Regions from separate parts of the Homo sapiens genome. Here all the other regions are linked to region 1. Evidence: promoter capture Hi-C in 16 types of primary human blood cells and fetal thymus (Javierre and others, 2016). All regions are on one chromosome and are shown on one strand. The core of a region is centred on a gene start or on the middle of the fragment in contact, and the rest is flanking DNA. Distances in the headings are between cores, read along the strand shown.

Region 1 (4,279 bases), core at 823-3,322:
CCACAGGTTGAAGCGGACAAAACTTAAAGGCAGCAGGAGCTAAGTATGGTACTTCCTTTTTTTAAAACAACAAAAACAACAGAAAATACTAATAGTAAAACATCAATGCTTTTCCATTTTCCCTTTTTTATTTCTTTTCTGAGGTCCCCTCTAACACTAACTACCCCCTCTTTACCTGTTAATCCTACCATTAGTACTAATAAAAAGTTATCTTTAACGTTAATTATAACTTGTTATATATCTGTTTTTCTTAGTTTGAAGTTTTTACAGTCTGAGGTATCCTCTAAAGCAGTTTCTCAAACTTGAATATGCGTAAGAATCACCTAGGGATCCTGTTAAAACGCAGATTATGATTTAGAAGGCCTGGGGAAGGTCTGAGCTTTACCTGAGCTCCCAGGTAAAGCCCTTGCTGCTGGGCCTTGGACCACACTTGAAGTAGCAAGGCCTTACAGGGTTTAGAACAAATAAAGTGCATACACACAAAAAAATGATTGCTGGATGCTGCTTTGGTCTCTCTTACTCTGTATCTTGAGCTTTTCTTCAATACATCTTTTTCCACCTTTTCCTATGCATAATTTATAGCCAACACCTGACAATCATTCCTTTGTGTAATTACTTAGTTGTGCTCTTCCTTCCCTTTTCTTAGTCACCATTCTCACTGAGAAATGCGTCATTTCATGAGTACTCCAGTTACCCCCAGCCTCTTTCTACTAACATCTACCTTGAAACATCAAGAACTGGTTAAATAATCATTTTTACCCCCTTCTTGCTGAGCAACCTATAGTAGCTTCCTACTACACACATTAAATTCATATTCAGAATGAGAAGCTTCAAGACATTTCACCAACCCTTCCTTCTCCTCTGCCAATTTCTCTTTTTGCTCCACTTGGAACTCTCTGCATATTGCCCAGGTATACTTAGTTTCTCGAAACTCCTTACAGGACATTTTACTTTGGGACTGTCTTCTTTCATTCCTTTTTAAAGACATGCTGTATCGCTTTCAAAAAATTCTCAATTTTTACCAATTCAAAAAAAATTTCCTAATTCATTTCCAGTTGAGTCCCGTATTTAAAACAGTATTATCTAGGTGCTAATATATGTCTTATTATTCTTATTTTTATATGTCTTAACATTCTTTTTAAAAATATTTTCAGCCTCTCTAAAGGATCAAAAAATTAACCTTTAAAATCCCTTGAAGAGCATTTTAAGAGAGAAAATATTTGAGGTTTAGTAACACTTACACATTGTACCACCTACCAGCTCCTATTCTACTAGGGAAATAAAATTTAGATGCAGCTAAAATTTAGTTAGGGCCCAAACTCACATCCTATCTAAAAGGTTTCTGTTTTCCTGTCATTGTTTTCTACCCTTCGCATTTTGCATTCAGTAGGGTTGCATTTTTCTTAATAGTTCTTGGTGATGCAAATGCAAAAGAAATGAAATAGGGCTCTCTCATACTACAATTTCAAGGAAAAGGAGACTACGAGGCCCATTCAGCGAGGTGCAAGAGGCCTAGATGCAGCACACCCTGCAACCGCCGCATGCTCCAATTTCATCTTAGGGTTTTCGTACAGCTCCTCTTTTTTGGATGATGCAAACCGCGCAAAAGCAGCATTCAAACCTCCCCACCCTGGAAACGATACAAGAACATGAATCTTTACTGCCACTTTCTCCCTAACACGCAGCCAAGGGAGAGAGGCCCGGATACCCGCCCCCAAAACCGCGTCCACAACAATCATTTCCTCCCTCCCCGCCTTTTACATACAGTACACATACAAATACACACACGCAGAGAAGCCAGCAGGGGCGGGCCGGGCCCGACCACTCCGCAAACCGCAGGGGGAACTTGCGGCAGGCCGAGCTATTTTCGCCCAGTCCTTTCTTCTTCGCTTGCGTCTTCCTCTCCATCTGCATGCACCTGTTACATGAAAGCGAACTTGGGGACGTAGGGTTTCCAGAAAATCCGCTTCGGAGCCACACAGCTTCGCCGGGTGCTGCAACATCCCCCCTCTCTCGGTAAACAGTTGGTCGCGCCCCAGTGCTAGCGGGCGCCGAGCGGGAGCCGCGCGGGAGCAGCGCAGCTACGGCGGCGGCAGCGGCGGCGCGGTTGCGATTCCGAGCCGTTGAGACGCCTCTGCGGCAGCTGGTGGCGCAGGTGGCTTGCGTGGACGCGGGTAGAGGCGACCGGCCAGCAACCGCAGCGTCGGCGCCCGCGGCCCCGGCAGGTGAGCGGGCGACGGGGACTCGCCCCGCCCCCCCCTCGGTGGCGTCGCTCCTGGCTGTAGCGGGGAAGTGGACGCGGCCCGCCCGGGAGCCGAGGGGGCCGAGGCTGCAGCCGCTGGGCAGCAGGTTGCGGGGGAGGCCTTGCGTGGGCGGAAGGGGGCCGCTCGCTTCTCGGAATCCCTGCCTTTTTCTCTCCCATGCACCCCCTCCCTTTTGGGGCTTAAGCTCGGTGGAAAAAGCCCGGAGAAAGATGGGGCGGGCAGACGGGCGATTTCTGGCCGGGCAGCATCCCTGCTTCAGGTGGTGGCGTCTCTTCGGTGGCGGGGTGGAGGACCTGCTCCAGCGCGGAGGCAGCGCACTGGCGGGGGAGGAGCGGGAGGCGGCCGTCCCCTCGCTCTCCCACCCCCACCCGCCGGTTCCCCTCCCCCTCCCCTTGCGGCCCCTCCCTTCGGGGTTCTTCGCTTTAACCGCCCTCGGTGCTCTCCCTAGCAGGCGCGTCGGGACGCCCCGAGGCATCCTCCCCCGCCCGCGGGCCCGGTAGCTGGGCCCGCGTCCGCCGCCCGCATCCCCGCGCCGCCGCATCTCCTCGCCGCCTCCCGGGCTTCGGACCCCCGGTCTCGCCCCCGAAACATGACTCGCGATTTCAAACCTGGAGACCTCATCTTCGCCAAGATGAAAGGTTATCCCCATTGGCCAGCTCGAGTAAGTGATTTGTAGCCCTCGCGCTTAGCAGTGCTACCCTCCTCTCCAGAGGCCTGCTGCCCACCGTGTCTCTTTATTTTTTCTTCTGTCCTTTCTCTCCCTCGCTTTAGTCTCATTTGTAACCTGACCTTTCATTTTAGTTTTTTGCCCAATAATCTCCCGTGTAATTATGAAAATCCAGACGTTTCTACATACCTGTGTATTTCCCTATGGTTTATTGGCAGACTTGGACAGATTTTCTTCCTAGGAAATATTTAAATGCGTTGCTAGTTAATATTCCATTGTAGGTGAAATAATGAAGAGTGAATTTTTGTTTAAAAATTAGTGAAACATTGACATTTCCATAGTTTTGGATCAAGTACAAAATATCAATGGAATTTGTGCAGATTACACACAAACACTTGGATGTCAGAGAAGTGCGTATGTGATTAAATTGGATTTACAGGGTTTTAAAAAAAATACCTTGTACTTGATGAGGCCTTCTGGATTTGCTTGTTTAATACAGATTCAGGACTGGATATTCTTGAAAGTATTACAGTAGTTTAGTACCGAGGAAGGGCCAGAAAATTCATTTCTCCTTTTTTATTTGAGATGTTTATGACCTTGAAGAAGTTGTTTTACCTTTTTGTTTCCAATAGGCAAAAAGGAGGTGTGGACCAGATTCCTCAGTTCACATCTAGTGGTACAGAGAAATGATTAAGGACCCAGGATGTTTTGTGACATTGAGGAATTGAGACTGTTTAAAGATCTACGCTCCATTTTTAGAAAAAGGGTTCTTTTTGTTTATGGTGGTACCCAGGCTCTCAAACAGAGATAGATAGGACCTAAGATATGTTGCAATCAATTAGATTAGGTAAACTCAAGATCCTTTAAAAATATACTTACATGGGGTTCTGAAGTTTTATTTTTCCAAGCCATTTATTTTCGACTAATTTACTGTCCTTTGAAAATGTATTTCTTAAAAATAATTAAATTCTGTAGTTTTAGTTATGTCAGCAGGGGAATGGTGGAAAACACCCATTAGATAACGGAGTCCTGTCTAGGAGCTGAGAGTGCCATCCAAGTGTAAAACGATCACTGTTCCTTGACTTTCTTCCATCTAGCTGCTCTACGTAAACTCCTGTTCACAAGTTTCCTTCCAAAGCTTTTTTCCTTGCCTATAAAGTCTGCCTTTTCGGTGCAGTCTTACTTGAACAATCCTTAGTCATAATCCTTGTCTGTATATTTTACATTCTAATCTATTCCTTTCGTGATAATCTTTTGTTTTAATTCTTAACTCTGTGTATGCTTTGACCTCCAAATATATTGTGAGACCGAGGGCAACAACCTTAAATGGAATTTGTTTATACCCTCC
Region 2 (4,279 bases), core at 534-3,033, 400 kb after region 1:
GAAGGAAACCCATTAATATTATGTGTTTAATCTCTGAGTTGTAGAATTTGGGTGATTTTTGTTATCTTCTTCAGAAGTTTAATGTAGTTTATTAATCTTCTACAATACAAAATTTTCTGTTTTATAAACAGAAATAACAAATACTATTTTATAAAACCTGTACAAATTACATTAATTCCAGCATGCTAAATTGAACACATTATTTTTAGTAGAGCCTTTCAAGGATTATAATTATGTCCTTTTGGATTTACTGGGTAGTCGTAATATTTACCTCTTTCCTTCACTTTGCCAGTGGGAGAGATGTTTGCTATGGCAACAGAAATGACTAGAACAGTCATTTATTTCCTTTTCTAAATTTAATTTTTAGGAAGAATTAGAATGTGAAATGTTTTCCAAGTAGTTGACCCCATCTGCATCTTCATTTACATTTCCTAGAGTCCATTGGACCTAGCCTTGCTAGGCCAGGGCTAACTCCTTCACACTCTGTCGTGGAATAAAAATGAACACTTCGACTAAACTATGGATGTATTTAATTAACTCATCCATATTATCCTTAGTTACTCTCTATGCAGGGCAATTCTGACCCAAGAGAGACTAAATTTCCTTTGAAAGAGTAATTTATTTTTTGGGAAATAACTGTGACTGTTTATTGAGTGCTTTAGTATCATGCCTAAAGTTTAGTGTAATTTCCTTCTATTATCTCATTTAATTCTCACAATAACCCCATTATATGGTTCCTATTATTATCTCTGTTTTGTATACAAAGTACCTCATATATAAAGAGGTTAGGTGACCTGTCCAGTGTCATATCAATCATAAATGCCAGATGTGAGCTGTAAGGCCATGGGAGACATAGACCAAGTTCTTAAACTCTAAGCTACTTAGCATTCCTGTGTGTTCCCTCTTATGCCCACTGAGACCCACTGTGACATTTGAGTACAGGCTAGGTAATCATTTTTAAGAATTCCAGTGTCAGAGGAGACTTTCTATCATGAGACTGTTGCTATAATGACTAAATTATTCTGAATTGATAAGGAATGCCAGATGCCTGCAGGTTCATTCTATTAAAATTTGCTTTGCATATTTCTGCCCTAAACTCAGTGAAACTCATGTTTTAATCTCCTTGCAATTCCAGGGGAAATAAAAAGCAAAATCATTTTATTGCCAGTAAAAATCTTCTAGGTTTAGTCAGAGCAAATTATAATTTCTGGTGCTTCTTGACTCATTAGTTCTTCCAGATGGTGCATGTAAACATGGCAGGAGCTGCAAAGAGTGTGAAGGCCGAAATGTAAATCAAGCAATAAGTATTCATTATAATTTGTGTGACAAATGGAAAGCCTATAAAGCGAAGCAGTGCATTGCTCGATCAATTTCATCCCATTACTCTTGGGATCCCCCAGAGACTATTTTCGGAAACAGACTCCCCAATTTTGTCAAGGTCAATTGTCATTACAGTGTTTAGAGGAGTCCTCAGATGCCTCGCAGATAAGCTTGAGTCATCATAGCTGCATTCTTTCTGCTCTTGATAATCTATGGGTTGTCCTTAGTTCTTCAAGAAGCATGAAGAAACAAGAGGAAAATATGACTTTAAAATGTTGAGGTTATTTGAAAAGGAAGAGAAGGCTTGTTGCAAGTGTTCCCATACCCACTGTATTGGAAGTAATCCTGCCTTGCCCAAATTCCCCCTTCCCCAGGATCCAGGTATACATCCCACTGTCCTGCTGGGAGTATTGATGACTGATGGGTCTCAACTGAGGTCCTGAAGAGATCTTCCTGGCCCAAGGTCACATGCCTTCTGAGCAGCTGCATTTATTGACTGGCTAATGGGTAAGAAAGAAGGACCAGACTCCTGATCCCACTTTCTAGCCCCTCTCCAACTTCAGACAACTATGATTGGCCTTCTCAGCTCCAGAGCTCCTCATAGGGTCAGCTGAGGCCTTTGTTGCAAATGAATTTCAGTTCGACTTTTTGCCCAATTTTTAGTGGTTATATAGCCCCCAATATAAGAAGCAACATGCAGCGGTAGAAAAGGCACCAGATCATGAATCAGAATACCCGGGGTCTAAAGCAAGCTTTGTTACTGTTGAGCAATGAGATCTTGGAGAAAATAATTTGCCTTCTCTGTTCCTTATTTTTCTTATCTTTCAAGTATAAAGCTTAGCCTAGCCTAGCAGTTCTTACCTATGCATCTCTCCCAGTGGATGTCCTTTGACTCCCTGAAATTATATACAATGTCTATGTATTTTTCTGGCAAGGTTAGGGGCATAACTTTCATTAGGTTCTTGAAGGTCTCCACAGAATTTTTTTCTATTGTGGTAAAAAAAATACATAACATATACTTTACCATCTTAACAATTTAAACAATGTTCAGTTCAGTAGTGTTAAATATATTCATATTATTGTGAAACAGATCTCCAGAACTTTTTTATCTTACAAATCTGAACTCTATACCCATTAAATAACTCTTTTTCCTCCTCCTCTTAGCTTCTGTTAACCACCATTCTACTTTCTGCTTCTATAAATTTGACTACTCTAAGTACCTTATGTAAGTAAAATCATATACTATTTGTCTTTTTGTTGTTGGCTTATTTCACTTAGCATAATGTCCACAAGGTTCGTTCATGTTGTAGCATGTGACACCACTTCCCTTTTTTAAGGCTGAATAATATTTCATTGTAGGTATATACTATGTTTTGTTTATTCGTTCATCAGTTGATGGACATTTGGGTTGCTTCCACTTCTTGGCTGTTCTGAATGGTACTGCTGTGGATATGGGCATCAAATATCTCATCGAGACTCTTCCCTTCCCTTTCCTTGTCCCTCCCTCCCTCCTTCCCTCCCTTCCTTCCTTCCTTCCTTCCTTTCTTTTCTTGATATGGGGTCTTGCTCTGTCGCCCAGGCTGGAGTGCGGTGGCATGATTATATCTCACTGCACCCTCAACCTCTCAGGCTCAAGGAGTTTCCTCCAGCCTCAGCCTCCTCAGTAGTTGGGACAGGCATGCACCACTATACCTGGCTAATGTTAAAAATTTTGTAGAGATGAGGTCTCACTATGTTGCCCAGGCTGCCCTTGAGCTCCTGAGCTCAAGTGATCCTCCTGCCTCAGCCTTCCCAAGTGCTAGGATTATAGGTGTGAGCCATTGCACCTGGCTATCCCTACTTTCAATTCTTTTGCATATAAACCCAGAAGTGGGATTCCTGGCTCATATAGCAGTTCTATCTTAACATTTTTTAGGAATCTCCATATGGTTTTGTATAGTGGTTGCATCATTGTACAATTCTATCAGCAATGTGCAAGGGTTCCAATTTCTCCATGTTTTGCTATCTTAGTCTGATTTCTGTTGTTTATAACAGAATACCTAAAACTGCATGGATAAAAGAAATTTCTTTTTCCTTTTTTTTTTTTTCTGGAGGCAGGGTCTTGCTCCATCACCCAGGCTGGAAGGAATTTATTTCTTAGAGTTATGGAGGCTGAGATGTCCAAAGTCAAAAGCCTGCATCTGGTGAGAGCCTTCTTGCTGACGGGGATTCTCTGTAGTCCCAAGATGGCACAGGGCATCACCTGGCAAGGAAGCTGAGTATCCTAGTTCAAGTCTCTCCTCCTCTTCTTATAAAGCCACTAGTCTCATTCCCATGCTAACCCATTAATCCATTAGTCCATTAATCCACTAATGAACGCAGAGCCTTCATGACCCAATAACCTCTTAAAGGCTCCACCTCTCAATACTACCACATTGGGGATTAAATTACAACATGAGTTTTGGAGGACAAATATTCAAACCATAGCACTTGCCAGCGCTTACTATTTTTTTTAATAGTAGTCATTCTGATGGGTGTGAGGTGATCTCCTCATTGAAGTTTTCATTTGCATTTCCCTGATGCTGAGCATCTTTTCACATGTGTGTTGACCATCTGTATGTCATCTTATGACAAATGTCTATTCAAATCCTTTACCCCTACCCACCTTTTCTTTTTCAGGCAGGGTTCCACTCTGTTGCCCAGGCTGGAGTGCAGTGGTGTGATCTCGGCCCACAGCAGCCTCAACCTCCTGTGCTCAAGTGATTCTCCCACTTCAGCCTCCTGAGTAGCTGGGACTATAGGTGTGCACCATCACACCCAGCTAATTTTTATATTTTTTGTAGAGACGGCTTTTTGCCGTGTCACCTGGGCTAGTCTCAGACTCCCGAGCTCAAGCGACCCGCCTGCCTCAGCCTCCCAAGGTGTTGAAATTACAGGCATGAGCCACTGTGCCTGGCCTGTCCATTTTTTAATTGGGTTA
Region 3 (4,279 bases), core at 1,093-3,592, 360 kb after region 1:
AACAAAACTGTGGCTCTTAGAAAGGATGCCATAGGCCTTATGGTTAGGACCGTCTGGGTAGGTTCAGTTCATTTGTAGAACAAAGATTTCTGTTGCAATGCTCTTTTAGCCATCCAGCTTCATTCGTTTTAAGGGCTAGACCTTGTTCTTCAGCCATTTGGCAATCTGTGTATGGAGTACTGGATACAGTGTGGTTTAGTGCAGTGGTTCCCAGCTTTTCACATCTTAAATTCTACAAATCTTTTTTCGGGGAATGGGGAGGACGAGGTGGAGAGGCACCTGTTATTGCTGTCTAAGCAGAAAGTGAGATGGCGTGAGGGTGCGGGGAGGGACGGTATTGCAGATTGGAGCACTACCATGTACCTTTAGGATGCCCTCCTCCTCATCTTCCTAGATGAGCTCTGTGTCCCTAGACTTAGTTTACACAAACACACAAAAAATAGTAAGTGTCCATGATTTTGATTATCAAAATAATCCTTGGCTGGATAATCATTCTTGGGCGATATTGTTGGGGCGAATGAGGGGACTGAGGGAGCACAAAATCTCAATAACTGATGCTAAAACCCTGTGTCCCCCATTTGGTCATGGAGCAACAAGTCAATACCAGGTCAACAGAATCTTCTATACTTAAAATCCATTTTCGTGGCTCTTATACAAGCCACTGGGAAGCCCACACATTCAACATTTGTTCCATTTTTCCTTCCAGATTAACTTTATTTTTCCACATCCCCGATAGTGATTTTTCCATTAACATTTGATGCTCAATTTTCATTTTCCCTAACATTGGTCCCTGGAAGTCTTCCAAAATCTTAGGAAGCATAATAGATTTGATTTCATCTTGTTCCTTTCTCACCTGTTTTTTTTTTTTTTTAATAAAGCTGGTTTCTTTCTTTATTTGAGCAATCTTCTGCTCTCCAAAGGAAGACTCTTTAAAGCTTAGTCCAAAGGAAAAGACTCCTATTCCAAGGCCAGCAAATTTCTTCCTCCACGTGGCCTCTAGCAGCCAGCCAGCCACCAACTGGCCTCTTGTTACAGCCTTTTGTTGACTCTCTTATGGATGCTGCTAACAGTCTCTAGCTTTCCAGCCACTTTCAGCTCTTCTGACAGTAGCCCCTTTTTGGGAAGGACCTGGAGATGAGGCTAAGGCTGCGTTGTTCCCTATCTTTGTTGGATGTGTTGCAATAAAACAACACAGGTAATTCACATTTGAGCTGGAGATTAAACTCAGGTTGGGCTTCCAAGCTGTCACCTGGGACAGTCATTGAGGTTGTGCTTCTTTATCCTGGTTTGTGGCTTGGACGTTTGTTTAGCCTTAAAACAGGATTTCAAATGACCAAAGGAGATTCTGTTGGACTTTTCCTTGGCAAACTCAGGAAGGTATGTCGTGCTTTCAGTCTTCACTGGCTGAGAATGATAGATAGAAGGAAAGCTGGGAACCTCCTAGGCCTTTCATCCCATTCTGAAGTCTCTGGGTTCAGACCTCAGTTCGTGTGTAATGTGGACGATTGATGATTGCAATGGATGTCATTTTTGTTGTTATTCCAAGCAAATGTACACTTTTTTCTTCTCTATGGTATATTTTATTTGTTTTGTTATACCAAATTGTTCAAATAATGTTGAGTATCAATGACCGGGCACCTACTGAAATAGGAAGGGTTTTAAATGGTAGGCAATTATACAAAATTAAAAGGATGAAAATGGCAATTAATGGAAGAAACACAGATACCAAAAATGAAATATTAAGAAAAGAGTAGAAAGTCTGCCAATAGGACATTCCATTCTTTAGTTTGGGGAAAGGCCCTCATGCAACATTTTCTGTGCATTTCCAGTGGGCATAGGTGTCTAAGTTCTAAAACTTCTTTTCTAAGTAGGCCTAATTCAGAGAACCCAGCTTATTAGATATAAGTGCAAGAAAACAAGCTTTATAGCCATTTACCTCCACCCTTTGACTGAGTGGGGAAAGGGAAAAAGGAGGGAATTAAGGTCCCGGCACTCATGCTTCAAGGCCAAGAACTGCATTGTGGAGATCTGTCTGGGGAGGGTGGCTGTCACGCTGCAAACCTCAGAGGTGGGCACTGTCAGCCCCATCTGCTCAGGAGGGATAACAATGCTGCTGGTGGGACTTTGGGCAGATCATATAATAGCGTGGACCAGAGTCTGTTGTTTCCAGATGCCCCAGGGGAAGGCCAGAGAAAGGCTCCTTCTGAGTGAGGCTGACTGGGGGTAGTCAGAGCACTTATGTAGAGTGGCTAGGCTTTATTGGAGCAGACCAATACAAAAAAAGTACTAAAAAAACCAGTTTCACTAATAATTAAATGAAATTCCACTCACTGCACTTTAACCAATAAAATATCTTTGTTTTTTTTTTGTATACTAAACCCTACGTAGACTTGAACCAATTCAGAAGACAGTCTGTTGGCCAAAGGGCAAAATCCACAGCACCAGGTAGCATTTGCTTGAAGTTCCAAGGCACCACGAGAGATTGCTTTCCCCCAAGACTACCAAGGCAGTGTATATATGTGTGTGTGTTCTTGTATGCACACACAGCACACAAAGGACAAGTCTCTTTGCCTTGTGCAGAAATATTCTGATTGTTTCAAGATTGAATGAGCTTTCCCGCTTTCCCACTTTCCCACCTTGTCTTCCACCTGTGTGAAGTTCGTCCATGAGAGGGGTCTGCCCCACTGAAAATCTCCCATTTGGTTTTGGAGCTGCAGGAGCAGCAGGCTCAGGCAAGTGCTTCAATCCACTTTGCCAAGCTTTCTGCTGTACTCCAGACAACTTGGCATGCTGCAGCAGGGGCAAAACACTGACGTCCTCTTTTCCTTTTTTTTTTTTGAGATGGAGTCTTGCTCTTGTTGCCCAGGCTGGAGCAACCTCCGCCTCCTGGGTTCAAGTGATTCTCCTGCCTCAACCTCCCGAGTAGCTGGGATTACAGGTGCCCGCCACCATGCCGAGCTAATTTTTGTATCCCTAGTAAAGACGGAGTTTTGCCATGTTGGCCAGGCTGGTCTCGAACTCCTAACTTCATGATCTGCTCACCATGGCCTCCCAAAGTGCTGGGATTACAGGCGTGAGCCACTGTGCCCAACCCTCTTTTCCTTTTTCAAATGTCAATGGAAAGTTGATTGGAAAGGACAATTTGGCTACCTTTTGGTACCCTGCAGGATTACCTTTATATCAATCATTTGCTGATGCAGGGACTTTCAGAAATTTTGTGGTCTCTTGCAAACAGCCTTGGCAAAACATAGACCTTCAGTATGTGTTGAATGAACCCGTGGATTGCTGGTGTCAGAAGTCCTTTCGTGGACTTGCCTCTGCTGGGGACCTCAGGTTGTGTTGCCTTCTGGGAGGGCCACAGAGAATAGACAGAAAAGAAATCTAAAAGATTCTTATGGGTTTAACACAGGACTCGGCCTTAGCATAGAGAGGGGAAGGTTGCAAGTGGAGGCAGTTGCCTCACCAGGACAGTGGCTGGGCAGAATGGTTTCACAGAGCAAGGTGAATAGACGGAGTGGAAGATGATAGAGATTGCTGAGGACACAAACTCATGCTGCATCTCTCATGGCAGAGTGTTGGTGCTGCTATTTGAATATTAGTCAGTGTTCAACAGAAATCACTCTAGGTACTTTAAGAAGAAAAGAATTTAATACAGGAAATTAGGTGCTTACAAAATCATTAGAAGTGTTGGTCAAGTAGGTTCCAGGTGTGGCATCCATGAATGTTCTTGGGCAGGGGTGCCTGAAGTAATCCACCAGGGCAGACGTATTCAGGCAACCTGAACATCTGGCACAATAGCAGGGGTAGAGGGGGAGGCAATTCCTGCCAGGAAGATAGCAGCTTCCGGCTGGGTGACTAAGAGGCCACGGCAATCCCCTTAAGATTTGTGGGTGGTTTGGTGACTCCTGGCACCTTCCTTGGTATTGGAAATGCCCGTCCCACAACACTTTTTCTGGTAGCAGCTTTGAGGGAGAAGGGTGGGCAGGCTGGTGGGAGGAGGGTATTTGCCTGCTACTTTCTCTCCAGAAGTGTTCATGGCTACAGTCATCATGTGGGCTTTTTTGTAGGCATGTGAAGGTAGATGGGGAATTAGGGTTGCCTTTCTCTGGGACCTCCAGTTCCCTTTGGTGGTGCTGGTGAGTTCAGGACCAGCCTCTAGCACAATAAGTGTGTGGCTTGTGGGGTTAGTGATCCTGATGAGCCACTCACAGGTATTTATGGACTGACTTCTTCTAGCTGTCTCAAGTTCCTGTCTGTCTGTTAGGTCTTGGCACTGACC
Region 4 (4,279 bases), core at 1,093-3,592, 340 kb after region 1:
ATTTCATATTATTTGAATTAGGGGGCGAAGAAGTCTTTTGAAAGACTTGCAGATGCAATAGTCTAATTAGATTATTTATTTTTTTAATGTGAAAATTAATATTGTTTAGCAAATAGCTTACAAGTTGAGCCAATTTTGGATTTGTTGGGTAGTTAAACTTCAGAGATATTTTGTTGCCTGTATTTAAATTTCAGAAGATAAATAAATATCATTGCATTTAAAATAGCTTAACAGTGACCTTCAGAAGACTTCTGAAAAAGACAGTCTGAGAACATGAACACGGATCGATATAATGTACTTCATGGGTTGAAGAGACCTTTCTCTATAAAGGATGATGCAGTATTCAGTTAGTGGTTTTTTACTCTTCATTTGATTAAAGGTGGTGACGTTTTGGAGAGACTGATTTTGAATGTACTTAAGTCTATTATAATAACAAAATTCAAAACCCCTGTGTATCTAAAGGGAAGGAAGTGTCATATTTTAGGAATTTTTCTTAACCTTAGCAATGAGAGCCTAAAATACATACATGGATTATTTTTCTTCTAGGAAGTAAATTTCCTGCTGCTTTAAATGATATGTAAAATATCAATAATTTTTACACTTAAGATGTTGGTAAGACCTAGTTTTCTAATCTCTCTAGCACTGTGATGTCTCCTTGTAGATAATCTGGACCTTGCTTAGTCCTTTAGTTGGGAAACAGAATCAGGGCATAGAGCAGAAGAGAGCTTGACACTCCATATGGTCCTGGTTCTGCTACCCATTAGCGATTAGTGAGGAGACCTTTAGGGAGTCCACTGTGCCCTGTGTGTCACCACATTTTCTTCTGTGAAATCAAGATTAAAGAACAGATGACTTTCAAGGTCTTTTTCAGTTTTATAACTGTGAGTCTATGTATTAGGTATTTATTTTCAACAAATGACTTTAAAATGTCGAATGCAAACCATTCCCACTTGGAGTGTTTTATTTTTCAATCATCATCATTGCCCCCAACTCCCCACATGTATGTGTTGTGGCATCCAGAGTGAGAAAAGACAATTTATGAGTTGATGAATCTGGGCCTTATTTCTATTTCCATTTTGAAGAATAACTTGTCATAGAAGCCTCTGCAGTTTAACAGAAGGAGCCACATATTGGGAGTCACGAGTTCATCTCTGTGGGTTAATAGTTCCATGACACGGAGTACGTAGCTCAGCTTTTCAGGGGTTCAGTTGCCCCACTATGGATAGCGGTGTGGTATTTGGTACTTGTGAGGGCTCAATTAGATAAAACATATGATAGCTTTTTGTAAACTGTAAAAGGCTATACAAAAGTATGAATTATTATAATAATTATGGTTTTTTATGTCTGGATTACAGTATCAACACAAAAGTATTGGCTGATACTGTGGTTTGTGTTGTAAAATGAAAGAAGTGTAGAAATTCAAATACCTTACTGTGTATTCATGTGTTTGATGTTGACAGTAGGCTACCCAGGTTATATGAACCTGCTCCTGCCGTTCCCTGCCACATGGACCTGTATCAAGCAGTGTGTGGCTTGTTTTCTTCAAGGTACTGATTCTTGACCAACACTGAGGATGTATATCCAATGAAAGATAGATATCAATGGCGGTAGATATCAATGTGTTATTAGTAATACAACTTTAGGTACAGACAAAATAGAAAATAAAATTAACTGTCATTATAATTAGTAGTGGAAAATACATTAAAAATTATTTGTGTATAGCTTTGGAAAAAAGTTTTCCAAAAAAAGCTTTTTGGAAAAAAGCTCTTAGAAGAGCTTTGGTAACATTATTTTTGAAAGCGCACACTCACATTGTGACTGTGGGTATACTGAGCATATATTCTTACATTGTTACTGTGAGAAGCTGCAAGTCAGTGCTGCAAGTCAGTAACAAATTCTCTTTTGGGGATAAAATGAAACAGTTTTAAGCTTAGAGTGGCCATTTTTATTTTAACTCTGCATTACTAAACAAATATAAAAGAAATTCATCTCCATTTAAAAATCTTTTTTGTTATTTATATTTTGTTTTATTTTTGTTTCCTATTCTTTATGCAGTTACCTGATACTATGGACAGTATATCCAGTGGATCTTTTAGTACTGTAATATCAAAATGCTACAAATATTTATGTTTCCTGCTATGTTCAAGATATTGTAGTGGCACCAACTTCTTGGGCATCAGCTAATATTGCATTTTGGAGTCATTAGGGTGTTCTGTGAAGAATGAATACTGAAGTGACAGTTTTATCTAGTTTTTTGAGGGGCATTTATGATGGGGTTGGGTTGCCATTGTGTCTGACAGTGCAATTCATGTAGTTCCTGGCATAATTGCCTTTTTTTTTTCCTTAATGGAGAGGCAGGGTTCTGATTGGTGCTGTATAAATTTAAGTAACTTTGTGCTTTGTAGGAATGGTGACAAGGAAGGCATGATTTCCCCCTGACAAGGAATGAAAGGTGAACTGTATCAGCTCTTATCTGGACATATATGTTAATGTTTTCTATGCTCCCTGATACAAGAAGTTTCCAAGTTATATAGGAAAATTAAGTCCATTGATCCTGTCTTTATCCTCAGAGGGCAGAAATGAGACAAGTGGATAAAGGCTGTAGGAAGCTGAATTCCAGATTAATCAGTGCCGAGGAAGATTTTTCATTATCGGAAAACCCAACAGTCTAAAATCAATAACCAGTTCTTCTGCAAAGGGGTGAGTTTAAGCAGGGCTAATGTGACTGTCATTTCTGCCTGTCCTGCAAGCTTAGACTAGTTGAACTTTGAGGTCACTCTATGATTCTTTTATTAGGGCTTCAAATCAGCAGGGAGTGTGTAAAGAAAAAATGCTCCCCCCCTACCATTTCAAATAAAAGTGAATGTTTTCTCTTTCAAAGCTACTATTAGAGGTAGTTGTGATAGACACTAACAATCCCCGGTGTTAATACTTTCCACTCCTTTTATTTTATTTTAATTTAATATTATTTTATTGAGACAGAGTCTCGCTCTGTCACCCAGGCTGGAGTGCAGTGGCGTAATCTCTGCTCACTGCAAGCTCCTCCTCCCAGGTTCACGCCATTCTCCTGCCTCAGCCTCCCGAGTAGCTGGGACTACAGGCGCCCGCCACCACGCCTGGCTAATTTTTTGTATTTTGAGTAGAGACGGGGTTTCACCGTGTTAGCCAGGATGGTCTCGATCTCCTGAACTCGTGATCCACTCCTTTTTAAAGTGAGTCTAGTCTGTTGATCTTCATAAATAGGAGGGTTTTCCTCCAGCTTGGACATTAAAAATAATTTTTAAAAAGATCTTTGTGGCTAACTGGAAAATCTTCTGGAATTATCTAATGCTTCATTCATTTCCCTCCATTTCTGTTTTTTTTTTTTGTATTTATACTCTGCATATTTAGAAATCTTAAATTCAAATACATTTAGTTAAAATGAGTTGACGAAGACTCCAGTGATGTTTTAATACCCTAAGATTTTGTGATTCCTTGGGCCTGGAATGGATCTTAGAAAATTACCTTGCCCTCATGAGCCTGTAAACCGTGTTGTTTCCCCTCAGTCTTGCTCTGTCCAGTACAGTAGCCCCTCGCCACACATGGCTGCGGAGCACCCGGAATGGCTTACAGCACATGTGGGAATGGTGCTGAATGCTGAGGAAGCATTCACTCATACGTGCTGCACTTCTTAAAGGCCTCCCAATAGCCTGCTTTGCGGAGTTCTGGCTTTTACTTGCTGTCTACTATGATCACCTGATTTGTGCTTCACATACATATCTGTGAAGTTTGCTTTTTCTATTTAAAGTGCCCTTAAACTTTCATTTGATCGTGTTTATCTGCAGATGGTCAGTGTCATTGGCATATTTGAACATTATTCTGCCCTCCCTCCGCCAAACTCCTTATGTACTAGATTAAGAAATTTTATTTTTGAGATGATGATTTTAATTTGATTTTACAGACATTCTTTTTTACAAAGTACAGTTGTTAGAGTTATAGAAGAGTGATTCACATCTTTGAGAAGATAGATTTCATGATTAATATATATATTTTTTGAGACAGAGTTTCGCTCTTGTTGCCCAGGCTGGAGTGCAATTGCACGATCTAGGCTCACTGCAACCTCTGCCTCCCAGGTTCAAGCAATTCTCCTGCCTCAGCCTCCCAAGTAGCTGGGATTACAGGCATGTGCCACCATGCCCAGCTAATTTTGTATTTTTAGTAGAGATGGGGTTTCTCCATGTTGGTCAGTCTGGTCTCGAACTCCCAACTTCAGGTGATCTGGCCGCCTTGGCCTCCCAAA
Region 5 (4,279 bases), core at 847-3,346, 330 kb after region 1:
TCCCTTCTACGTGGGAGGCTGAGGCAGGAGGATAGCTTGAGTCCAAGAGTTCGAGGCTACAGTGAGCTATGATCACACCACTGCACTCCAGCCTGGTGACAGAGTGAGACCCTGTCTCAAACAACAACAAAGAGTTATTTTAAACATGAGGTTTTATCTCTGAAAATGAGTTGTACTTATAAAGTTATGAAATCTTAATCATGTTGATAATTTTGTGTAGACTTTCCAGTGCCCTGATGCCCAGGCTTTTCATGATAATGAAAATTAATTCTGATCCACTTATGAGAAGTTGGAGGGCAATGAGATAATTTTTTCTTGTTCATTCTGTCCACTTTCTCACCTATGAATGCTGTAGTTGTATAATAGGAAAATGGTTTAAATTATGGGTAATTGAAAAGAGTTGTTGTCATTTTGAACAGGGAATATAAGATTTCATTTCCTCTGATTTCTTTAATGCCTCTAATTTTATATCTGGAAGACTTGTTGGTCATTCCTGATTTGAAAGGTAGAAATGTCATTTACCTAGGGATGTTCTGTAATAAGCTCCTTCTTTTTCTCAAGGCAACTTATGTGTTCTTGAAAGCAGCAATTTTGAGTATGCTTCCAGAGGAGGATGTAGTAGCAACGAATGAGAATGTGGTAACTTTATTCAGGTATGTGAGACACTATTCCTATAACAAAGGCTCTGAGGGTATAAAGGGGCAAAATCTCATCTCTACTGAAAATACAAAAAATTAGCTGGGCCTGGTGGCATGTGCTTGTAGTCCCAGCTACTTGGGAAGCTTAGGTGGGAGGATTGCTTAAGCCTGGGAGGTGGAGGTTGCAAGTGAGCTGAAATAATGCCATTGCACTGCAGCCTGGGTGACAGACAGAGTGAGACTCTGTCTCCAAAAAAAAACCATGTATATTAACTGTAGCATCAACATCAACATTAGTAAAAGCCATGGCATGATAAATGTCACTTTTTACTGTAAAGTTCATTTCCTTATTTTACGGAAACAACAATTAATGGAAGGGAGTATTAAGATACATTAAAATCTTTTAAATCTCCTTCTCTTTCTTCCACTGCAGATTAAGTTTTCTCCATATCAAAACAGTTTATGTGAAAGATGTGATCATTTTTATTTTCAGGAGAAAGCTTTGAGGTCTTGCTCTGTCATAGCTTCTAGGTTGTTGGGATAATGAGAGTTCTAACAATGAATGGTCTCTTCATAAAGATGCTGTTACCTTTAAACTACAAGGGTTCCTGTCTGAGACATGCTTCTGACCCCTTCCTCTGACCCCCACCTCACATTTCCACTGCCTTTTCCACTGACGGTAATGAACAAAAATGATGAGACACTGTAGTTTAAAATCCATAGCTCCATATTTTGCCCGGAATTAACCTAACATAAGCTTGACTCATATTGGAGGCATATTATTTCATGTTATTTTTTCTTTCAGTGATGTAATTGAGTATTGCCTTGAATTCTTTCTCAGCAACTTGTTTGATGCATCCATAAAATTATGCATAAGAAAGTGCTCCCAGGAACATGTAGTCTCCCCATCCTACTGTCATTTTTACCTGCTTATGAATTTCATAATTGGAATTCTGTAGAATTTTAAAAGGAAGTTTCTAAACATGGTACACATCCTAAGCTGATTATTTCCCAAACAACCTGTGCTTGGGAAACATTTTCTTAAATTATACGTTAATTGTTGGCTGTCTTTTGAGCCATATTATTTTATAGATCTGTGTAATACTTGCAAATAGGAATAGGCCATATACCAGTGTACCCTCTTCTCTCTCCCTGAGTATCCACAACGTAAGTAAATACTTTGGACTCTTTCCTGCTTACTCGTAGAAATCGCCAGTTGTATACCTAGATTTCCTGGACTGTGTTTGATAGATTTAAGACATTAGCTAAGTTGACTGGAAAGAAATATGTGTCAGTCAGTGGTTCTCAATCTTGAGTGTGCCTCAGAATCACCTGGAGGGCTTATCAAAATCTAGATTGCTCGGCCCCGGCCCTGGAGTTGCTGATTCAGTAGGTCTAGAGTAGGGCCTGAAAATTGGCATTTCAAATAGGTTCCCAGGTGATGCTGCTGCTGCTGCTGGTGGTCTGTGAAGTTCACTGTGAAAACCACAGGTACAAATAATGTATGTGTTGCCATGACCTTTCTCTGGGGCTGGGCTGGGGTTCTTCACAGACAGGTGGACAGCTTGAAGCAGAGAATTGCCGGGAAATCTATCCCTACTGAGAAGTTTGCTGTGAGGAAGGCTCGGCGTTACTCCGCCTCCTTACCTGCACCTGTGAAGCTCATCTTACCTGCCCTGGTATCTGCTTTTATTTTCTTTTCATGTACTAGAAATAAATTACCTACTCACAGCAGCAGGGAGCATATCTAAATTTGGTTATGAAGTTTAGCTCATTTAAAAACCATTGTAGGTTTTGTTGTAAGTTGAACATTTCTAAATAAATAATTAATAAATAAAAACTGTAGCTAATGGTTTTTGACTAGTTAGTATGATCCAGGCATTACGATAAAGGCTACTAAAAACGTATCATTTTATTCTTATAACTTTTTGAGTATAGTTAACTCTTAGCCCCATTTTTTAGTGAAGAAATTTAGACAGAAAGAAGTTGATTCCATTGAAGTTGAGTTGAATTCTAATGCAAGCCACATTATGTAATTTTACCTTTTCTAATAGCCACATTAAAAAAGTAAGAGGAAATAGAAATGAATTTCAAGAATATATTTTAACCCAGTATATGCAAAATTTTGTCATTTCAACATGTAATTAATAGAAGCTTATCCATGAGATATATACATTCTTTCATATTGAACCAAGTCTTAGAAATTTAGTGTGTCTTTTACACTTAGAGGACATCTTAGTTTGGTCTAGCTGTATTTCCAGTGCTCAAGAGCCATAACTGGCTGCTGGCTGTTGTATTCTAGCTCCAGCTCACATTCTTAAACTTTATGCCATTTAGGCAAGGCTTCTGTGAAAAACACAATTTCAACTTGAATTTTCTTAATGAAGTGTTCTTCAAAAAATACTGAATATATCAAGTTACTATGACTCTTCTGGTGCTTTAGTTTTTATATAGATAGTCAGCACAGGAAAGCTGTTCAGTGTAACCGATGTCTGCAGTCCTCCACTCTGGGGTTTCCTGAGTTTTTTTTTTTTTTTTAAATTCAGAGTTTATTTCATCATTCCTCTTTGACAGTTATTTAGATTTTTCCAGTTTTTACAATTATACACTGCAATGAATATCCTCTTTTTGTACATGTGCATATAATTCTCTGTGAAAGGTTTTTTAAAAATGGAATTCCTGGTTCAAGGGAATATATACATTTAATATTTTGGTAGATATTGTTAAATTCCCCTCAAAAAAAGCTCTACCAATTTAAATAAGTACTGATAGTATTTTACCATTTTAATTTGCATTTCCTTGTGGATGTGGTGGAGCATCTTTTCATGTGTTTCTTCATTTTTATTTTTTCTTTTGTAAATTGTTGTTCATATTCTTTCCTAATTTTTCATTGGGTTGTTGATTGTTTTCTTAGTGACTTATGGGAGCCTTTTATACATTCTATGAGAAAGAACAATGCAGCCCCTCCCTGACAGGGGTCAGACAGGAGTTAGCCTGCGCCTAGCACCTAGGTCCAGGTGTTTCCTACCTAACACAAACTCAGAGAACTTCAGCATCAGACAGGCCCATTCTGTGACTGTGACGGAGCAAGACAAAAATATGACCACTCTGTAATCGTGTCTGAGCACAAATAAAAACAAGAACACTGTGTAAATCACACAAATAACCAAACATCTCCCTCTCCCAGCTCACATGAGAGCCTTCTGTTGCTTAACCAATTAGAGCCTTAGCTCCATGCCTGATTCATTTTTATTAAGTGATTTGCACTGGGAAGGTTTTTCTGTCTCACAGAACTCTACAGAAAATTTTCTAGACTATCATCTTTCTTTGCCTTAATACTTAGATACCAGTGTATACGTAAGTGTATCCTGCTTTGACTGTTAAGAACCATAGGGAAGGTTAACTCCCTGCACTTCTTTCTCCAGGTCTATGGAAGTAGAATGTACAGGAAATTGGCTTGAAATGTTAGTACTGGGATTTTTTTTTTTTTTTTTGTACCTAGGAATTTTACCAAAAGCCTGTTTTTCATAAAGTCTCAGATATGAGCTTGCCCTCTTCTGATAAAAAGATTTTATCAATAAAAGGAATTTTTAAAAGATCATCATCAATTTAAAAAAGATTCTGTTATTGAATTGAACTCT
Region 6 (4,279 bases), core at 684-3,183, 300 kb after region 1:
GACATGGTATTTTTTGTATGAGTATAAATAATAATAATAATTTGGCCGGGTGTGGTGGCTCACACCTGTAATCCCAGCACTTTGGGAGGCCGAGGCGGGTGGATCACAAGGTCAGGAGTTACAGACGAGCCTGGCCAACATGGTGAAACCCCGTCTCTACTAAAAATATAAAAATTAGCCAGGCATGGTGGCGCACACCTATAGTCCCAGCTTCTCAGGAGGCTGAGGCGGGAGCTTGAACCCAGGAGGTGGAGGTTGCAGTGAGCCGAGATCGCGCCACTGCACTTCTGCCTGGGTGACAGAGTAATACTCTGTCTCAAAAATAATAATAATAATTTGAAAAATAAGATGATAATGCTCCTTTTTTTTTTTTTTTTTTTTTGAGACCAAGTCTCACTCTGTTGCCCAGGCTGGAGTGCAGTGGCATGATCTCAGCTCACTGCAAGCTCCGCCTCCCAGGTTCACACCATTCTTCTGCCTCAGCCTCCCGAGTAGCTGGGATTACAGGTGCCCGCCACCACGCCTGGCTAATTTTTTGTATTTTTAGTAGAGACGGGGTTTCACCACGTTAGCCAGGATGTCTCAATCTCCTGACCTTGTGATCCGCCCGCCTCAGCCTCCCGAAGTACTGGGATTACAGGTGTGAGCCACCGTGCCCAGCTGATAATCCTCCATTTTTAAAAAGCATCCTGTATGTGCTATATACTGTCCTTGTTGCTTTTCTTAACATTAACCAATCTAACCTCCTCTTTGTAGACTTGGAACTGATCAGAGTTATAAACAAATGGCCAGGATTCCCCACCTAGCAGAGTAGGGTTAACTGATCATCTGCCTTTCCCTAAGCCACAACTCTTTCACTGTAACCCACACTTTCTCCTATAGGCAAGTAGAGAAGGGCATGAAATGTGTCATATACGGATGAAGGAAATAATGAATTATTTCTGTGTTAGTCATCTTGAAAATAGATGATACTGTGTTGTTATATTTTTATAATGTCTTTGAACAATGGCACTTTAGGAAATCTGGAATAAGGTAGAAAATTACTTTTTACTAATTATAAAAAGTAGGCTGGGCCTGGTGGCTTGTGCCTGTAATCCCAGCTACTTGGGAGGCTAAGGTGGGAGGATCCCTTGAGCCCAGGAGGTGGAATGTATTAGTCCATTTTCACACTACTCTAAAGAACTGCCCAGGACTGGGTAATTTATAAAGGAAAGAGGTTTAATTGACTCATAGTTCTGCATAGCTGGGGAGACCTCAGGAAACTTAAAGTCATGGCAGGAGGCAAAGAGGAAGCAAGGTACCTTCTTCACAAGGTGGCAGGAAGGAGAAGTGCGTGTAGGAGGAACTTGTCAAACACTTATAAAACCATCAGATCTCGTGAGAACTCACTCACTGTCATGAGAACAGCATGGGAGAAACCACCCCCATGATCCAAACATCTCCCACCAGTTCCCACCCTTGATACAAGGGGATTATGGGGATTACAATTCAAGATGAGATTTGGGTGAGGACACAAAGCCTAACCATATCACAGAGGTTGCAGTGAGTGCAGATCATGCCCCTGTACTCCACCCTGGGTGACAGAGCAAGAACCTGTCTCTACATAAATAAAAAAAATAAACTAATAAACTTGTGACTATAGCCTATTATGAAATACAGGTTTATTTAGACTTTCATATCTAAATAAACTTAGCTTATTTAGCTAAGTTTATTTAGCTTAGCTAACATTATTTCAGTGCATCATGAAGATATTTACTCCTGTGGACTAAGGAATTTATAATTAAGAGATATTCTGGTAGTTACCTACTCATAAGTGCCTAATGGCTAATTTTGAGAACTAAAGAACTATGCAATGTAAATCAACCACAGTGAAAGAATAAGACTTTTATAAATTAAGCTGTATTTTATTCTTAGTGAGTTTGGCTGTCAACTGCAACCCAAACAGACTTTGTGTTCAAGGGAGCATGTCAAAACATTGTAGCTTTAGTGTGTGATTTGTTTTTCCTCTTGGTAATTTTCATTTACATCCTTGAGTGTCTGGTTGTCTACAGGAGTGAGTATATTTCATTAAACTTTTCATGGTTTTAATGTGGAACATACTAGTTCTTTTCTCTTGTGGCTGGCGGATTGCCCCAAATGGGTTTCAAATTGCCTTTACAAACAGATATTTAAATGCAATGAGTGCCTGGGATGTGAAAGGGATTTAATATGACAGATACTTATTTGCAGAATACAAAGTTCAAACTCTCATGCCTTTTCTGTCTGCCTTGTTGTCACATCCCCATGCTGCTCTTAACTTTGTTCATCTTTCACTTAACCCTGATCTGCCCACCCGTCTGCTCAGATCTCTGCAGGGACTGACTCACTGTTGCTTCCTGAATCAAGTGCAGACTCTAACATTCAAGGCCACTTATAATTGAGCCTTGACTGAGCCCTTCCAGCCTCATTGATGTCTCCTCCCTTGACTGGCTTTTCCTGAAGGTGCTCTTGGCTTTCCTTGCTCCTGTTACCAGCACAGTCCCCTCCGCCCCGGCTCCCCCACCGCTGCCATCACCACCACGGACTTCATCCCCTCTGCATGTACCCCAAGCCAGCAATCTGTATTCCTGAGCAGACTTTCATAGCTCATAATTCCTGGTTCTCACTCTGTTACAGAATTACCTAGGAAGAGGATATTCAGGTGACTGGGTAAAAATAAGTTACCAGTTGGTATCCCGCTGAACACAGCTAGAAAATCACTAGGCACACTTTGAGGAGAGGTGTTCTGAAGGACTGAGACCCTGACTGTGGATGTGCAGGCTCTAACTCCTCAAGTTTGGTCTGTTAATGGCTTTGGCCCCATCTTTCTGTGTACTGTTGAAGACCTTAGCTGCAGAGGTGCTTCTTTGTAAATTAAACATTGGAATATGAGCATGGCAGGAACTTGAACCAATTTATGAGAACCAGTGGGTTGTATGTGTGTGTAGGGTGGGGGTGGCATCTATGTGTATAAGTGCAAGAAAGTACTTGTTGTCATCTAAGTCTATTTAGCACTAATCCCAATAATAAGAAATACCCTATTTTCAGTCACAGTCCACATAAAAATGCTTTCTTCTTTCTGAGCTTTTACCAAAAAGCAGTGACACGGATCATGGGCAGTAATCTCAGTGCACGTAGTTAGCACTGATCCAGTGCTTACTCTGTATCATGAGCTCTATGTGCAGCACTTCATTTGATCCTTCAGCTGTGAACTAGAGGCGGCGTTAGTGGCCTTTATAAATGAGGAAACCAGCAGAGAGGGGACGAGGTCCCATAGCTCGTACATGGCAGAGCCTTTTTAGCAGCTCAGGCTCCTAAATACCCCAGGCTCGTTTACTTAAATATCATGCCACTTTGCATCCCATGGATAGAGCAAGAATCTGCTGACTTGTGTATGGAAAAAAGTAAAGGTTTGTCTCTCCATCCTCTGCAAGTATAATGGTTGGTTGGGAAGCTAGGGTGTGTGTTTTGGGGTACTCCGCAGGTCCCTGGGATGCACAGAGCCCCACCTAACCCCTTTTTGTGAGTACCTTGTTCTTGTGCTAGACATCTACATGATCAAATTAGCCTGAAACTGGGGTAGTGCTACCTCTTTCTATATCAGGTCTTCATGTGTGAGGAGTCTTAACGTGGCCGTGCAGGACATTTCTTTTTCACCGAGCTCTAGAGAATTGCTGCTTTCTTTTCAGGTAGCTAATGTGTCTGGTTAGTGTCATGGTTACCATACCTTCATATTTTAGAAGCTAGCATTCATACATTTAATTTAGTTTTTTTCAACTTTTAAAACTGTGTGAAAGTTGTTTTTTTTTTTTCTTTTTGAGATGGAGTTTCACTCTTGTTGCCCGGGCTGGAGTGCAATGGCGCAATCTCGGCTCACTGCAACCTCCACCTCCCGGGTTCAAGTGATTCTCCTACCTCAGCCTCCCGAATAGCTGGGATTACAGGCATGTGCCACCACGCCTGGCTAATTTTTGTATTTTTAGTAGAGATGGGGTTTCTGCCTGTTGGTCAGGCTGGTCTCGATCTCCTGACCTCAGGTGATCCACCCACCTCGGCCTCCCAAAGTGCTGGGATTACAGGCGTAAACCACCACGCACAGCCAAAGTTTTATGTTACTAATTAAGTTAAAAAATAAGTGGTTTCCTTTTTTAAAAAAGTGCTTTTAAATGTTCATTTCCCCTTGTGAGTTGAGTTTGCGTCTCTGATACGAAGTGACTGACTCTTTGCAGTTACATTTGAATGGGGATGACTTCCCTGAACA
Region 7 (4,279 bases), core at 1,016-3,515, 280 kb after region 1:
TCGGATTACAGGCACCCACCACCACGCCTGGCTAATTTTTGTATTTTCAGTAGAGACGGGGTTTCACCATGCTGGCCAGGCTGGTCTCAAACTCCTGACCTCAAGTGATCTGCCTGCCTCAGCCTCCCAAAGTGCTGGGATTACAGGCATGAGCCAGCGTGCCCAGTCCCAATTATTTTAGCACTTTGAAACATATAATATTTACCTGGCACACCAAATTTATGTTTATATCTAGTGTGTTATATATGGCATGTCAAATCATTGGGGGAAAAGATGTGTTTTTTTAAAAACAATCTTGGGAAACATGGCAAAAGATTAGGGAAAAAATTACACAGCACTATCTTGTACCATTTATTTAAATTATAAACGATTAAATATAACATATTAAAAAGTAAAACACAGGTAAAACTATGTTATATAATCTTTGTAGAGGGAAGGTTTTTCTAAGTATGCCCTCAAAATCAGGAATGTTAAAGAAAAGGGTGATAGTTACGACTAAGTAAAAATTTCAATATTGGGGAGACTTTTATTAAAGCTAAAGGCAAATGTGAAAAGGGGATATTTTAACAGTACATTTCAGAGACTGTGTGTTTCTAGCCCTCGAAAATGAGTCTGTAAATGAACAGATGGGCAAGAATGGTCCAAATGGGTAGATAGCCTTTTCAGTCGGTCACTTCCTCTTTCCCTGCTTGTAAACGGAGCTGATGGTCACTGCCCAGAGTCTTATTTATGGAAGTGGTACCTGTATTCTCAGAATAAGAAGTTTTTGTGATGGAAATAACTTGTCTTCTAATGACATTTTCCCTTACCTGTGGAGTTTTCTTCCCTCCCACCACCCACACCTAACCACCCTTGTAAGAACAACTTCAGTTTTCCCCTATGTGATGTGAAAAATTTAGGGAACTTGATATATCCAAGATAAAAATGAATGTCTAGTGTAAAATATTAGAGTGCATTGGGAAGTCTGAACTTCCAATGGGGGAAAAAAACAAAAAACAAAACTCCACTTAATTGAGGACACTGCACTTTTTTTTTTTTTTTGAGATGGAGTTTTGCTCTTGTCGCCCAGGCTGGAGTGCAATGGTGCGATCTTGGCTCACCGCAACCTCCGCCTCCTGGGTTCAAGCGATTCTCCCTGACTCAGCCTCCCGGGTAGCTGGGATTACAGGCATGCGCCACGATACCTGGCTAATTTTTGTATTTTTAGTAGAGACGGAGTTTCACCATGTTGGCCAGGCTGGTCTCGAACTCCTGACCTCGGGTGATCCACCTGCCTCGGCCTCCCAAAGTGCTGAGATTACAGGCGTGAGCCACTGCACCCATTGTACATCTTAGAATTAAAAAACAAAAACAAAAACAAAAAACAACCACAAAAAAACACGCAAAACTTCTCCTCTTTTTTTAATGACTTTACCTCTTTTTTTAATGACTCTAGCTCTTCTCTGTGAAATGTGTACTGTTAAGGTGAGTGGAAATGGAAGGAGATTGGCAATTCTATTGTAATACAGGGCAGGACTTACTCTTAAACTCTTTCTGGAAATTTCCTTCTCTGAGTGGACCTGCCCCCATTGTGTGCCTGTCAGATATCTGTGGGTCAACAAACTGGCCGAAGATTCTGCAAGGCAAATTGGTCCTTACCTTCTTTATGTTACTTCAGCTTTCTGTGGTGTGTATTTAGTGGGAAATTAGACAGTTTATTAAAAATAAAGTACTTTACAAAATAAGTACCATTGCCTTCGGGAATGTATTTTTTGGAAATAATTAGGCAAGTGAGTAAAGGGGCTTATTAACAGTAGTTTGTAATGCCAAAACTTTGGGAGTAACCTACATGCCTGAAAATGAGGGACAGGTAACAAATTATCATTATTTCCAGTCAGCAGCATGTTGCAGATGCTATGATAAAGCAACTCTGGATTTATTGAGAAGAAAAGATTCAGAATAATTCCTATATGTAATCCATTATACTGTATACCATAACCCATTATAATAAGTATCTTTAATAAAGTTTTATTAAAATATGTATAGATTTACTTGGGAAAAAACCTGGACGGATATATACAAGATACAATCCTATCTTTGGGTGGAGACCTGTGGAGTAATTTCAGTTAACTTATTTTTTGTGTACTAGAATGAAAAAATAAAGTTATTAGGGCTGTATTTCAGGAATGTTTGACACATAACAGTAGATTTTTGTTACTTGATTTTTAAAATTGATAAGAAATGGAGGTAAGATGTATAAAAATAATTGGAAGACTTATGTTGTGTAATTGCACTGGTGTAGACTTTTCTCACAGGACAAAGAAATAAAAAACCTTGCTCTGCCTTTTTAATTAACAGATCTTCTCACTCAGATATGGCAACAAGCAGCCTTCACTTTGCATCATGTGATACACAACAGGCGCCCAGACAGCGCGGAGCGTCTACTGTCAGCAGGTCAGGAAGGGTTGTGGGCATTCCTGGGGGAAGAGGGGAGGACAGTCCCACCCTTGAAGGAATATAATACTGATATTTGCATAGTGCATTGCGTTTGACAAACCAATGAGGTCAGGAGAGGCCTAGGCAAGTAGAGTGCCCATTTTATAAATCAGGGAAGGAGATACGGTGGCTGCTCAGGGACTCAGTGAATAGGTGGCACTGTTACATGAAAGCAAAACAAAATTCAACTTTGGGGCACAACTCCCTTTCAAGTCGCTTTTATCTTTAAATATTTTTAGCTATTATTTTTATTATAAAATAATAAATCACACTGCCAAACATTGGGGAAAATGGAGGAAAGGAGAAACAACCATAATGATGATCACTTGAACACAGAATTTTGGTGTATTTCCTTCCAGTCTTTTTCCTAGGCATGTGCTTCTTGATACAGTTGTAACCATAATAGATTTTTTCGTCAAATATTATATTATGATTATTTCTTTCTTACATTTTTTGCATAATCTTGGTTTAAAAATATATTTTAAGAAGTGTTCATTGTAGAAAATTCAGAGCTATAGAAAGCACAAAGAGAATGAAATATGTATTACTATAATCCTGATTATTTTTGTGTGTATTCTTTTTCTCCTCAAATATAGAGATATTAAATTTTTTTCTTAATTGGAATCATATTAAATATACTGTTCAGTAATCTACTTCTTAAAATTTAATATATCGTGATATTTTCCCCTTCCATTAGATATTTTTCTGTGGTATCATACTTGGTTAATTTTTGTTCCTTTCCAGATCATTTTAGAATTAACAGATTCTCTCTTTGAACATGAAGGTTTTTTTTATGAGTTATTAAGGCAGCTCTGTTAAAGCTGTTCTAGTACATGAGAAAGTACTTTTCATCCATCCTTAGAGGTTTATTAAACTTTTAGAATTATACAGCAGATCCTTTACTTAGCATTTTGGATTTTGCATTTGAAATTTCAGCTATGCGTGTGTTCTTTATACTCATGGGTTTGGTAGTTTGTCTTAGGATTCTACCCTCGCAATATATAGAAAAGGTTACAGAATGGAGATAAAGTGAAAATAACTTCTAAGGATCTTAAGGCATTTGTTTTCCATATCCTTTTTTTTACTGTGTGTGTAAAATTCCTGCTCATGGAATTTTGTGTTTTCTTCAAAAAGAAGTGCTCTTCCTTCATAGTTATCCTCTAACTCATTCGATAGTTTCCTAAGTAACTACTGTATCAACATTTATAATGCTGAGTTTGAAAGCTCTAATAAAATAAATAAAAATTACTGAAAGCATTAATAAATAAGGGCATGACACGCACAGGCAGCAACAAGCTGCATCTGTAGACTGGAAGTCTTTAGCATGCACGTAGTTGTTGAAGTGATGAACCACACCTGTATTTCCCAGAGAGCCATAACAAAAGAGAAGAGAATGGAGGAAGGAACCTTTTGGGAACACAGAACATTGAAGCATGGCTGAGACAGTGACCGTTCAAACAAGAGCTACATAGATGTGTGAGAGAGGAAGACTACAAGTTGGTGGCCACAGGACAGGCAAGGGACTTGGGGGAAGGGTGAGTTCTGGAATGCAGTCAGCAGAGCCAGGTGTGGCAAAGAGGTCTTCATGGATACAGGTGGAAAAGTATCCTTTGCATTTCATAGTTAGGTCATTGGAGACCTTTAGCTCATAAGGTTTTAGGGAAGTTGAGGCAGGAGTCAGGCAGCATGGCTAAAGGTCAGTGGGAGGTGGGGAAGTAGGGAGAGTGAGCATCATTTGTTTTCTGAAGCTCTTGCCTGTGAATAGAAGGAGTGGGAGAAGGGTGTGTTAGGAGAGAAAGCAAGA

The links. Contacts are between HindIII fragments. The CHiCAGO score rates a contact against its expected background, and 5 or more counts as called.
Region 2: a fragment that was not itself captured here is called in contact with the fragment with the promoter of PSIP1 in region 1 in 5 of 17 cell types (fetal thymus, naive CD4 T cells, total CD4 T cells and 2 more); the score reaches 7.5 in fetal thymus.
Region 3: a contact is called between a fragment that was not itself captured here and the fragment with the promoter of PSIP1 in region 1, in 2 of 17 cell types (non-activated CD4 T cells and activated CD4 T cells). The highest score is 6.2, in non-activated CD4 T cells.
Region 4: a contact is called between a fragment that was not itself captured here and the fragment with the promoter of PSIP1 in region 1, in 6 of 17 cell types (naive CD4 T cells, non-activated CD4 T cells, total CD8 T cells and 3 more). The highest score is 9.0, in naive CD4 T cells.
Region 5: a fragment that was not itself captured here is called in contact with the fragment with the promoter of PSIP1 in region 1 in 13 of 17 cell types (non-activated CD4 T cells, total CD8 T cells, activated CD4 T cells and 10 more); the score reaches 15.1 in non-activated CD4 T cells.
Region 6: a contact is called between a fragment that was not itself captured here and the fragment with the promoter of PSIP1 in region 1, in 10 of 17 cell types (non-activated CD4 T cells, activated CD4 T cells, naive CD4 T cells and 7 more). The highest score is 12.7, in non-activated CD4 T cells.
Region 7: a fragment that was not itself captured here is called in contact with the fragment with the promoter of PSIP1 in region 1 in 8 of 17 cell types (activated CD4 T cells, total B cells, non-activated CD4 T cells and 5 more); the score reaches 17.8 in activated CD4 T cells.

What each region holds. Positions count from the first base shown.
Region 1 is chr9:15,508,763-15,513,041 of GRCh38, reverse strand. PSIP1 (PC4 and SRSF1 interacting protein 1) reads left to right here and starts at 2,072. Exons shown (of 16, transcript NM_033222.5): 1 at 2,072-2,225; 2 at 2,713-2,925. The coding sequence starts at 2,854. RefSeq lists enhancers at 1-400, 1,053-2,005, 2,006-2,959 and silencers at 2,087-2,166, 2,187-2,396, 2,407-2,466, 2,597-2,646, 2,747-2,946. The HindIII fragment of the contact is 3,241 bases long and covers 831-4,071 here.
Region 2 is chr9:15,108,022-15,112,300 of GRCh38, reverse strand. No RefSeq gene overlaps it. Among named protein-coding and RNA genes, the nearest start is that of TTC39B, 200 kb to the left of the region's middle. The HindIII fragment of the contact is 582 bases long and covers 1,493-2,074 here.
Region 3 is chr9:15,150,710-15,154,988 of GRCh38, reverse strand. All of the region lies in intron 2 of LOC124902123 (a long non-coding RNA gene), which reads right to left. Among named protein-coding and RNA genes, the nearest start is that of TTC39B, 150 kb to the left of the region's middle. The HindIII fragment of the contact is 839 bases long and covers 1,923-2,761 here.
Region 4 is chr9:15,167,508-15,171,786 of GRCh38, reverse strand. TTC39B (tetratricopeptide repeat domain 39B) reads left to right here. Exons shown (of 20, transcript NM_152574.3): 20 at 1-4,279. Among named protein-coding and RNA genes, the nearest start is that of TTC39B, 140 kb to the left of the region's middle. The HindIII fragment of the contact is 821 bases long and covers 1,932-2,752 here.
Region 5 is chr9:15,183,318-15,187,596 of GRCh38, reverse strand. TTC39B (tetratricopeptide repeat domain 39B) reads left to right here. Exons shown (of 20, transcript NM_152574.3): 15 at 562-653; 16 at 2,191-2,317. Among named protein-coding and RNA genes, the nearest start is that of TTC39B, 120 kb to the left of the region's middle. The HindIII fragment of the contact is 1,397 bases long and covers 1,398-2,794 here.
Region 6 is chr9:15,204,087-15,208,365 of GRCh38, reverse strand. All of the region lies in intron 6 of TTC39B (tetratricopeptide repeat domain 39B), which reads left to right. Among named protein-coding and RNA genes, the nearest start is that of TTC39B, 100 kb to the left of the region's middle. RefSeq lists a silencer at 2,241-2,535. The HindIII fragment of the contact is 5,394 bases long and covers 1-4,279 here.
Region 7 is chr9:15,224,071-15,228,349 of GRCh38, reverse strand. TTC39B (tetratricopeptide repeat domain 39B) reads left to right here. Exons shown (of 20, transcript NM_152574.3): 3 at 2,338-2,433. Among named protein-coding and RNA genes, the nearest start is that of TTC39B, 81 kb to the left of the region's middle. The HindIII fragment of the contact is 4,969 bases long and covers 1-4,279 here.